3 separate regions of the Homo sapiens genome follow, and regions 1 and 2 are each linked to region 3. The links are contacts of gene promoters, found by promoter capture Hi-C in blood cells and fetal thymus (Javierre and others, 2016). All regions are on one chromosome and are shown on one strand. Each heading gives the region's core, a stretch centred on a gene start or on the middle of the fragment in contact. The rest is flanking DNA. Distances are from core to core; before and after follow the strand shown.

Evidence for each region. The method cuts DNA at HindIII sites, captures the fragments that hold promoters and counts their contacts. A CHiCAGO score of 5 or more calls a contact.
Region 1: a contact is called between a fragment that was not itself captured here and the fragment with the promoter of BFSP2 in region 3, in 2 of 17 cell types (megakaryocytes and endothelial precursors). The highest score is 6.4, in megakaryocytes.
Region 2: a fragment that was not itself captured here is called in contact with the fragment with the promoter of BFSP2 in region 3 in 1 of 17 cell types (erythroblasts); the score reaches 5.1 in erythroblasts.

What each region holds. Positions count from the first base shown.
Region 1 is chr3:133,079,013-133,082,190 of GRCh38, reverse strand. All of the region lies in intron 2 of TMEM108 (transmembrane protein 108), which reads right to left. Among named protein-coding and RNA genes, the nearest start is that of TMEM108, 42 kb to the right of the region's middle. The HindIII fragment of the contact is 738 bases long and covers 1,340-2,077 here.
Region 2 is chr3:133,010,747-133,014,033 of GRCh38, reverse strand. No RefSeq gene overlaps it. Among named protein-coding and RNA genes, the nearest start is that of TMEM108, 26 kb to the left of the region's middle. The HindIII fragment of the contact is 3,567 bases long and covers 1-3,287 here.
Region 3 is chr3:133,398,749-133,401,974 of GRCh38, reverse strand. It overlaps BFSP2 (beaded filament structural protein 2), which reads right to left and starts at 1,919. Exons shown (of 7, transcript NM_003571.4): 1 at 1,403-1,919. The coding sequence starts at 1,891. The HindIII fragment of the contact is 8,153 bases long and covers 1-3,226 here.

The DNA.
Region 1 (3,178 bases), core at 459-2,958, 320 kb after region 3:
TGGGCACAAAGCAGGCACTCAAATATCTGTAGAATGGCTGTTGAAGTAACTTGGCATGGCAAAGGAGAGAGCACAAAGCAGACTGCAGAGGTCATAAAGTATGCTGCTCAGATTTATTTTCAAGACAAAATCTGCCACAAGGAGTAGAGTTAGCTGACAGCTCCTAGCTGTGGGTGTCTTTAGGATCTGCCACGGCTTTGAAGCTGAGGTCATGCTCTACTAAGGTAGCTCCAGCCAATAACCAAGCAAGGCTTGCCACTCCCAACCAATGGGGACTCCTCTATAGATGATCTTTGCACAAAAGTTCCTTGTTGCTCAGAGTTACATTGCAGTACAATGCTCTTCCTATCTGATTGTACTTGATTCCTTTCTTTTTCATGTGTCTCACTTGGTATTGCAGTCTAAAGTTTCCCTACCTACTCTTTTTCCCTTTCCCTATTATCTTTCCCCAATAGATCTTTTGCATTTCTAATCCCATGTTGGTGTCTGCTTCCTGGAAGAACCAACCAACATGAAGGCAGAGAGATACAATGCTGAAGCATTAAATAAGAGTCAGAGTTACAAGTGTTATGCAAAGAAATGTGAATTTTATTCTGGCCTGCAGGGAAATGTGACAGATCTATATTCCATATAGCAAGAATGGATTGAAGGAATGGCACAATCATTGCTGTGAACTGAATTGCGTTCCCCCCAAATTCATATGTTGAAGCCCTAATGTGATAGTATTTGTAGATGGAGTCTTTGGGAGGTAATTAGATTTAGATGAGGTCATGAGGGTGAGGCCCCTATGATGAGATTAGTGCCTTTATAAGAAGAGATACCAGAGTGCTTATTCTTTCCCTTTCTGCCGTGTGAGAACACGTCAAGGAGGTGGCCATCTGCAAACTGGGAAGAAAACCCTCACCATATTCTGACCATACTGGTACCCTGATCTCAAATTTCCCGCATTCAGAACTGTGAGAAAACAAATTTCTCTTGTCAAACCGCCCAGTCTATGGTATTTTGTGATGGCAGCCTGAGCTAGGACAGTCATCTTCCAGTGAAACGTCCAGATGAGAAATGATGAAGGTATGGATGAAGGCATGAGAAGTGACGACACTGTGCTATGGAACTGTTCAAGGAAACTGTAATTATCCACATTTTATATCCGAGAAGTTGTTATGTGGAAAGATAAGAATAACTTACCCAAGATCACCCATCTGGTCAGCTTAAAGTTCATGTTCCTTTCATCAAACGACTCTGCCACCCAGAGGAGAAGCTTTAAGGAGCTAAAGGGGAAGAGGATGAGTTCCTTTTTCATGTGAAGAGACCCTACTTGTGTCTATCTAGAGACTAAGCTTTCATTCACGCAAGTCCTAGTATTTAAAAAAAATGGAGAAAATATCCAAATATTAAGTACTAGGATGAAAGTACTTCACACTGGGTACATTGAACTGTACTGGCTTTCCTCTAGATATACACTTTACAATCAGCATGTAGCACTAAGTGTCTACTAATTTCAGCTTCTGAGTGTAAAAAAAAACAATATATGAGTTGAATGAAGGAAATGAACACACATGTGAATAACCAAATATGTGAAGAGATATGAACAAAGAGCTATGGAAAGGTATATAGGATCATTAATTCTGACTAAAGAGCTCTGGGAAGGATTCCAGGGGAGAAAGTGTTTGAGTTGGGCCTTGAAGAAGGAACAAGGATTAGACAAAGCATTCCTTCCTTGAAGTTATTGTCAAGACCAAAGGTAACCAACATATGTCCTTACATGCAAAAAATATGGTGAAGATGTAAATGAGTGGCTTAGTTTCTGCATCATACTTTATGTAAATCAGTTATTTTGAGGCCTCTGGAAGTTAATCACAACTCAAAGAGTTTGAAATTCACCTTCACATAGCCATCAGTTCCTTATTCCTATTTATACCCTCTACAGCAATGAATGTAAAAGAATGGCAAAAGAAGGGGCCGCAGACAGTGGACATCCTGCCATTATCCCTGTTAGGGATAATGCTCTTGGGAATGCAGTTGAACGGTCCCCCATCTGTGCTCTCCTCTAGGCTTCTTTTTCATGTGTAGGGAAGCTTAGGCAGCTCACTTTAGCATACAGCACTATTTTATCAAGCATCTACCTTGGACGAGATGACAAGTAAGTATGTGGAAAGAGTCCATTCCCCCTAATTGTGGCCTTGGCCTGTAGCAAGAAGACATCTGTGCAAAACTTAGATCTCACACCCCAAGCATTGGAGTGAGGCCTCTGGCTATATAGAGAAAGCACTCAGCCTCCACCCAGAAGCTCCTTTACATGATGAGGCCCTGCCTTGAAGAGAAGGCATACCTAGCACCTCTGCCTCAGCAGGTAAGCAAGACGGTCACAGTCAAGCAAGACACACCCTTATTCCTCGCTTTCAAGCTTCGTGCCTGTCCCATCTGTCATTCATTTCAGAATGATACTTTGCTGGGGCCCTTCTGACCTGCAGTTCCTTACCTGCTGCCATAAACAGAATGTTTGTGTCCTCCCAAAATTCACATGCTGAACCTAATCCTAATGTGATGGTACCTGGACATAGGGCCTTTCAGACATGATTAGATCATGAACTCTCAAGAATGGGATGAGTGCCCTTGTAAGAGGGACTCCAGAGAGGACCTTTGCTCCTTTCTGCCACGTGAGGACAAAGAAAGTAGATGGCTACCTGTAAACCAGAAGCGGACCCTCATCAGATATTGAATCAGCTTGCCACCTTGATCTTGGACTTCCAGCCTACACAACTGTAAGAAATCCATTTCTGTTGTTTACAAGCCACCTAGTCTATATTATTCTGGTATAGCAACCCAAACGGACTAAGGCACCTGCAAAATAAAGATAATGACGAACATCTCAACAATCCCCAAAGAATCACTGAGAGGATTTATGTAACTCTGTTTTTTGAAAGACCCATTCTCTGGACAAAGTTCCAGATAAATGTATATGCATTGCATATTCCATCTCACCTGACCAGGGTTGAAGGCCCCTCTTTACACACAGGGAACAAATCCAGGAGGAAATAAATGGTTTAGTAAAATGCAGTCAGCAATTATGTCTTCCCCTTCGTAAGTCACAGCTATCTGATCCATTCTTCTAGAACCTAATTATATACCACCGGCACTTCTCGCTGAATTCAATATTTATATAACTATTATTATATTT
Region 2 (3,287 bases), core at 531-3,030, 390 kb after region 3:
GTCTAAAGTCTCATCCGAGACAAGGCTAGTACCTTTTGCCTATGAGCCTGTAAAATAAAAGCAAGTTAGTTACATCCAAGATACAATGGGGGTATAGGCATTGGGTAAATACTCCCATTCCAAAAAGGAGAAATTGGCCAAAAAAGGGGGCTACAGACTGCATGCAAGTCTGAAACTCAGCAGGGCAGTCATTAATTTTTTTTGTTTGTTTTGAGACAGAGTCTTGCTCTGTCACCCAGTCTGGAGTGCAGTCTGCAACCTCCGCCTGCTGGGTTCAAGCAATTCTCCTGCCTCAGCCTCCTGAGTAGCTGGGACTATAGGCACGTGCCACCATGCCCAGCTAATTTTTTGTATTTTTAGTAGAGACAGGGTTTCACCATGCTGGCCAGGCTGGTCTCAAACTCCTGACCTTGTGATCCACCTGCCTCGGCCTCCCAAAGTGCTGGGATTACAGGTGTGAGCCACTGCTCCCGCCTCAGTCGTTAGATTTTAAAGCTCCAAAATAGTCTCCTTTGACTCCATGTCTTACATCCAAGGCACACTGATGCAAAAGGTGGGCTCCCAAGGACTTGGGCAGCTCCACCCCTCTCTCTTTGCAGGGTGCAAACCCTGTGGCTGCTCTCATGGGTTGATGATGAGTACTTGTGGCTTTTCCAGGTGTAGGATGCAAGCTGTCAATGGATCTACCATTCTGGGGTCTAGAGGACAGTGGCCCTCTTCTCACAGCTCCACTAGGCAGTGCCCCAGTGGGGACTTTGTGTGGTGGCTGCAACCCCTCATTTCCCCTCTGCACTTCCCTAGTAGAGGTTCCCCATGAGGGCTCCACCCTTGCAACAGGCTCCTGCCTATATATCTAGACTTTTCTATACAACCTCTGACATTCAGGTGGAGGCTCCCAAGCCTCAAGTATTGCACTCTGAGTGCCCACAGGTTTAACACTGTAAGCCACCAAGGTTTATGCTTGCACCTTTTGAAGCAGCTAGAGCTGGAGCAGCTGGGATATTGGGTGTACCTGGGCCCCTTTGAACCATGGCTGGAGCTGGAGCAGCTGGGATGCAGGGTGAAGTGTTCTGTGGCTGCACAGATCAGCAGGGTCCTGGGCCTGGCCAAGTGATATGGTTTGGCTGTGTCCCCACCACCCAAATCTTAACTTGAATTGTATCTCCCAGAATCCCTACTTGTTGTGGGAGGGACCCAGGAGGATGAAATGGAATCATGGGGGCTGGTCTTTCCCATGCTATTTTTGTGATAGTAAGTCTCATGAGATCTGATGGGTTTATCAAGGGTTTCCACTTTTGCTTCCTCCTCATTTTTTTTCTTGCCACCACCATGTAAGAAGTGCCTTTTGCCTGCTGCCATGATTCTGAAGCCTCCCCAGCCATACGGAACTGTAAGTCCAATTAAACCTCTTTTTATTCCCAGTTTCGGGTTTGCCTTTATCAGCAGCATGAAAATGAACTAATACCGTAAAATTGGTACCAGTAGAGTCGGGCACTGCTGAAAATATACCCAAAAATGGGCCCAAAAATGTGGAAGTGACTTTGGAACTGGGTAACAGGCAGAGGTTGGAACAATTTGGGGGACTCAGAAGAAGACAGAAAAATGTGGGAAAGTTTGGAACGTCCTAGAGACTTGTTGAATGGCTTTGGCAAAAATGCTGATAGTGATATGAACAATAAGGTTCAGGCTGAGGTGGTCTCAGATGGAGATGAGGGACCTGTTGGGAACTGGAGCAAAGGTGACTCTTATTATGTTTTAGCAAAGAGACTAGCGGCATTTTGTTCCTGCCCTAGAGATTTGTAGAACTTTGAACTTGAGAGAGATGATTTAGGGTATCTGGGGGAAGAAATTTCTAAGCAGCAAAGCATTCAAAAGGCAACTTGGGTGCTGTTAAAAGCATTATGTTTTAAAAGGGAAACAGAGCATTAAAGTTCAGAAAATTTGCAGCCTGGTGATGCAGTGGGAAAAAAACCATTTTTTTCAGAAGAAATTCAAACTGGCTGCCAGAATGTGCGTAAGTAGCAAGAAGCCTAATGTTAATCCCCAAGACCATGAGGAAAATGTCTCCAGACCATGTCAGAGACCTTCATGGCAGCCCCTCCCATCACAGGCCTGGAGGCCCAGGAGGAAAAAGTGGTTTCATGGGCCAGGCCCAGGGTGCCCCTGCTATGTGCAGCCTAGGGACTTGGTGCCCTGTGTCCCAGCCACTCTAGCTGTGGATGAAAGGGGCCAACACAGAGCTCAAGCTGTGGCTTCAGAGGGTGGGAGCCCCAAGCCTTGGCAGCTTCCATGTGCTGCTGTGCCTGCTTATGCACAGAATTCAAAAATTGAGGTTTGGAAACCTCTGCCTAGATTTCAGAAGATGTATGGAAAAGCCTGAATGCCCAGGCAAAAGTTTGTGGCAGAGGCAGGGCCCTCATGGAGAACCTCTGCTAGGGCAGTGCTGAAGGAAAATGTGGGATCGGAGCACCCTCACAGAGTCCCTACTGGGGCACTTCCTAGTGGAGCTGTGAGAAGAGGGCCACCATTTTCCAGACCCCAGAATGGTAGATCCACTGACAGCTTGCACCGTGTACCTGGAAAAGCTGCAGACACAACACCAGCCCATGAAAGCAGCCAAGAGGGAGGCTGTACCCTGCAAAGACACAGGGGCGGAGCTGTCCAAGACCATGGGTACCCACCTCTTGCATCAGTGTGACCTGGATGTGAGACCTGGAGTCAAAGGAGATCATTTTGGAGCTTTAAAATGTGACTACCCTGCTGGATTTTGGACTTGGATAGGCCCTGTAACCCCTTTGTTTTGGCCAATTTCTCCCATAAGGAATGGCTGTATTTACCCAATACCTGTACCCCATTGTATCTAGGAAGTAACTAGCTTGCTTTTGATTTTACAGGCTCACAGGTGGAAGGGACTTGCCTTATCTCAGATGAGACTTTGGACTGTGGACTTTTGGATTAATGCTGAATTAATTGGATTAATGCTTAATTGAGTTAAGACTTTGGGGCACTGTTGGGAAGGCATGATTGGTTTTGAAATGTGAGAACATGAGATTTGGAGGGACCGGGGGTGGAATGATATGGTTTGGCTATGTCCCTACCCAAATCTCAACTTGAATTGTATCTCCCAGAATTCCCATTTGTTGGAGGGACCCAGGGGGAGGTAATTAAATCATGGGGGTTGGTCTTTCCTGTGCTATTCTTGTGATAGTGAATAAGTCTCATGAGATCTGATGAGTTCATCAGAGGTTTCTGCTTTTGCTTCCTCCTCATTTTTTTCTTGCCACCAC
Region 3 (3,226 bases), core at 670-3,169:
AGAACAGCAGCACCAGGGGGAGAGCCTGAGAGGATGGTGCTGTTCATCATGCACTCTGTGCTGTCAGTGGGCACTGACAGCAGTGCAGGAGAAGCATCCTGGGATGAAGTGGGAGGCAGGAGGGGCAAATGGGGAGTCCCTGTGTGCAACTGCTTAGCTTCCCCCAGCTATACACAAATAAAATTTTGTGACCTCCTCTTGGGAGGCTGCATACTGGACTCCAGGGGGCCAAGGGTCTGAGTTGGCAGTCCCTGGTGGGTTAGAGACTGATTTTGCTCAGAGGGATCCCAAGGCCAGCATCTGGAGAGAAAGAGGAGGAGGAGAGGTGAAGCCAGCTATCCACAGAGAGACCAGCTGAGAGGTGTAATGCTGGCTGGAGTCCCAGCATTAGAACTACAGGCTGCAGGCCAGACATGATGGATGTGCTCCAGACTCCGCAGAAATCACCCTGGAGAGTGGGAAAAGCAGGGCTGACCAAGCAAGGGAGAAAGATGAAACCTCTGCATCCTTCCCTGTCCAATAAGATAGCCATTAGCTACCTGTGGCTGTTTACATTTAAATTAATGAAAATTAGATAAAATAAAAATGCAATTCCTCAGTCTCATTAGCCACATTTCAAGTGCTTGATAGCCATATATGGCTAGTGGCTGCCAGATTGGACAGTGCAGATATAAGATATTAATATTTCCATCACGCAGAAAGCTCTACTTGAATGTAAATTACCTCATTAATATATTTTGTATTGATTACATGTTGAAATAACATTCTGGACATATAGAGTTAAATAAGCTATAATATTAACTTCACCTGCTTCTTTTTACGTGTTTTACTGTGGGTAATAGAAACTTGTCAATTACCAATGTAGTTCATATTTCTATTGAACAGCGTGGTTGTAGGTGGATACAGGAACACACCTCCATTTATTCATTGTTCTTAACACCTCATCCATCCAATGGTATTTGATTGGATAATAGCTGTAAAAATCCCTTCTCAACAGTAAAGGTGACTGAGGCAGCCCCAGGGTAATGGGGCAAATGCAACTTTGGAGGCACAAAAATTCAGGTTCAAATCTCATCTCCATCCCTCTACTAGCTTTGAAGTCTTGGGCAAATTACATGCCTCAGTTTCTCATCTGAAAAATGCAATCAGTGAATGATCCACTGCATAGCATTTCTTTGAAGTTTAAAGAAGACAGTGGGTAGTGCACGTATGGGGGCTAGCGTGGGCTCCTAGTAAACCTCGGTAAAAGGTAGCATTGTTGTTATCATTACCATTTTAAGTGTGAAAGTGTAGGGGATTATGGTCAGTTTCTCTGGCCTCAGCCTACTCACAACCCTACCCGCTGCCTTCAGCAGCCCCTCCCAGCCCTCTGCAAAGCCCTTGGCACAGCCTGGACACTTACCTGCTGGCAGCTGCTGGCCCAGGAAGCCCGTAGGGCACCCCAGTTTCCCGAGCGTGTGGCTTTGCTCTCCAGGTGCATCCGCAGTTGTGTTTCCAGCTCCTGACTGACTTGCTCAAGGGCGTGCACTTTGGCCATATATTCCACCAGGCAGCCCCCTAGGTCCTCAACAGCACCATGGTCCCTCTCCAAACCTGGAGCCGGCACGGTGGCCAGGCCTGAGCTCCGCAGGCCCTGAAGGAAGACACTGCTGATGCCGAGGGCCCGGCGGGTCACACGGGCACCCAAGCCACCTATGCACCCACTGGGTGCTGTTCCTACATAGACCCCGGGTGCTCGGACAAGGCCACTCATGGCATTGGTCCTGGAGGCTGGGGGGCTCTCCAGGGAGGATGATGACCGTGGCCCCCTGAAGGACGCCCTGCGCCTCTGGAGGGGCATGCTGGAGCTGGCACTGGTGGGCAAGTCCACTACCACTCGCCTCTCACTCATCACCCCTTCTGCCTCTGTGGTGCCCAGTGGGTTTACAGAGTCCAGTGGCTTTTGGTTTACAGCCCCAGCATCCCTGTGGCCTGGTCACGGGCCTCTCTGGAATCTCCCCTATCCCTGGGGCTGCTTTGTCTGCTGTCTTCCATGAGTTTCCATCATTCACTGAGCTGAAAGAGAAATGGGCACTGCCCAGGGCTGTGTGCAGAGAGGCACTCATGCATTCTTTGATGCAGGGTCATGTGCCCAACCTCCCAGATTATTCTGCTGGTGGTGGGGGAGGCTGGATCAGTGCAGGCTGTGGAGGTAGACCATTTGGGTTTGTGCATTTTACTACCTAAGTGGGCAAGGCAGGCATCAAGCAACCCCATTTTACAGATGAGTAAACTGAGGCTCAAGGACCTCAGATGACAAGTGTACTGATCACTTGCCCCAGACCTCAGATTACAAGCTAGGACTCAATCTAGCTATTTCAGGGCTTTCTACATCCCTATGTGTGCTGGCACATGTGAATGTGAACACATGTCCACACAGGCAATAGAGGATGAAAAATGGCAGGAGGCAGCTCCAGGGACCCAAGAGAAAAGACTTGCCTATGGTTTCCTCTCTCAGTCCTGGCAGCAGCTTCAGGTCCTTCCCTCACCTCTCTCCTTTCCTCCTCATCTCTGTCCTCTAATGCTCTGCTGTTCATCAGCTGCTTGCTGTTGGCCAGGATGCTTCCTCCCTCTGGACCTCACTGTCTGAACATTGGCTTGGGCCTTTAACTCTCTGATGCACCAGATAAGGACCTTGGGCAAATTCAGATCCCACACATGTTCCGGCCATTCCCTACACCTCTGCTTCTCCATCTGTTGGAAAACTGAGAAATAAAAACAACAACGAGGGTGTTTTCTGGTAAGCCTCTCCAAGGGTGCCCCAAGTTAGGATATGATGACACCCCTGGGTTTTAATTATTGACCTTGGCATCCACTAAGCCACCAAGGGTCACACCTCAATCACTTCTCTAGGATCAGAAAGGTTCCCCCAGTTACAGGATGACAACATGGACCTAAAAACCTCTGTACATAAGTTTTACCCTGGAGAAACCAGGTCACCAAACCCCAGAGCTGGATACTTTTCCAGATGCTGTAATGTAGGAATGTACCTCAGGTGAGAGAAGGAGAAGGGAGTCAATCTCTAGTGAGTAGCAGATCCAGCCTGGTGTGTGCATGAATCCTATGGTTTATTTCGTGGAATTCTCAACTCAACCTCAGGAGGAAGGAGGTCCAGGGTTGACAGGTACTGCCATATGGGCTGTGTACCTCACAGCTCTAAAATGACATGTCCTACAGTTGGCCACTG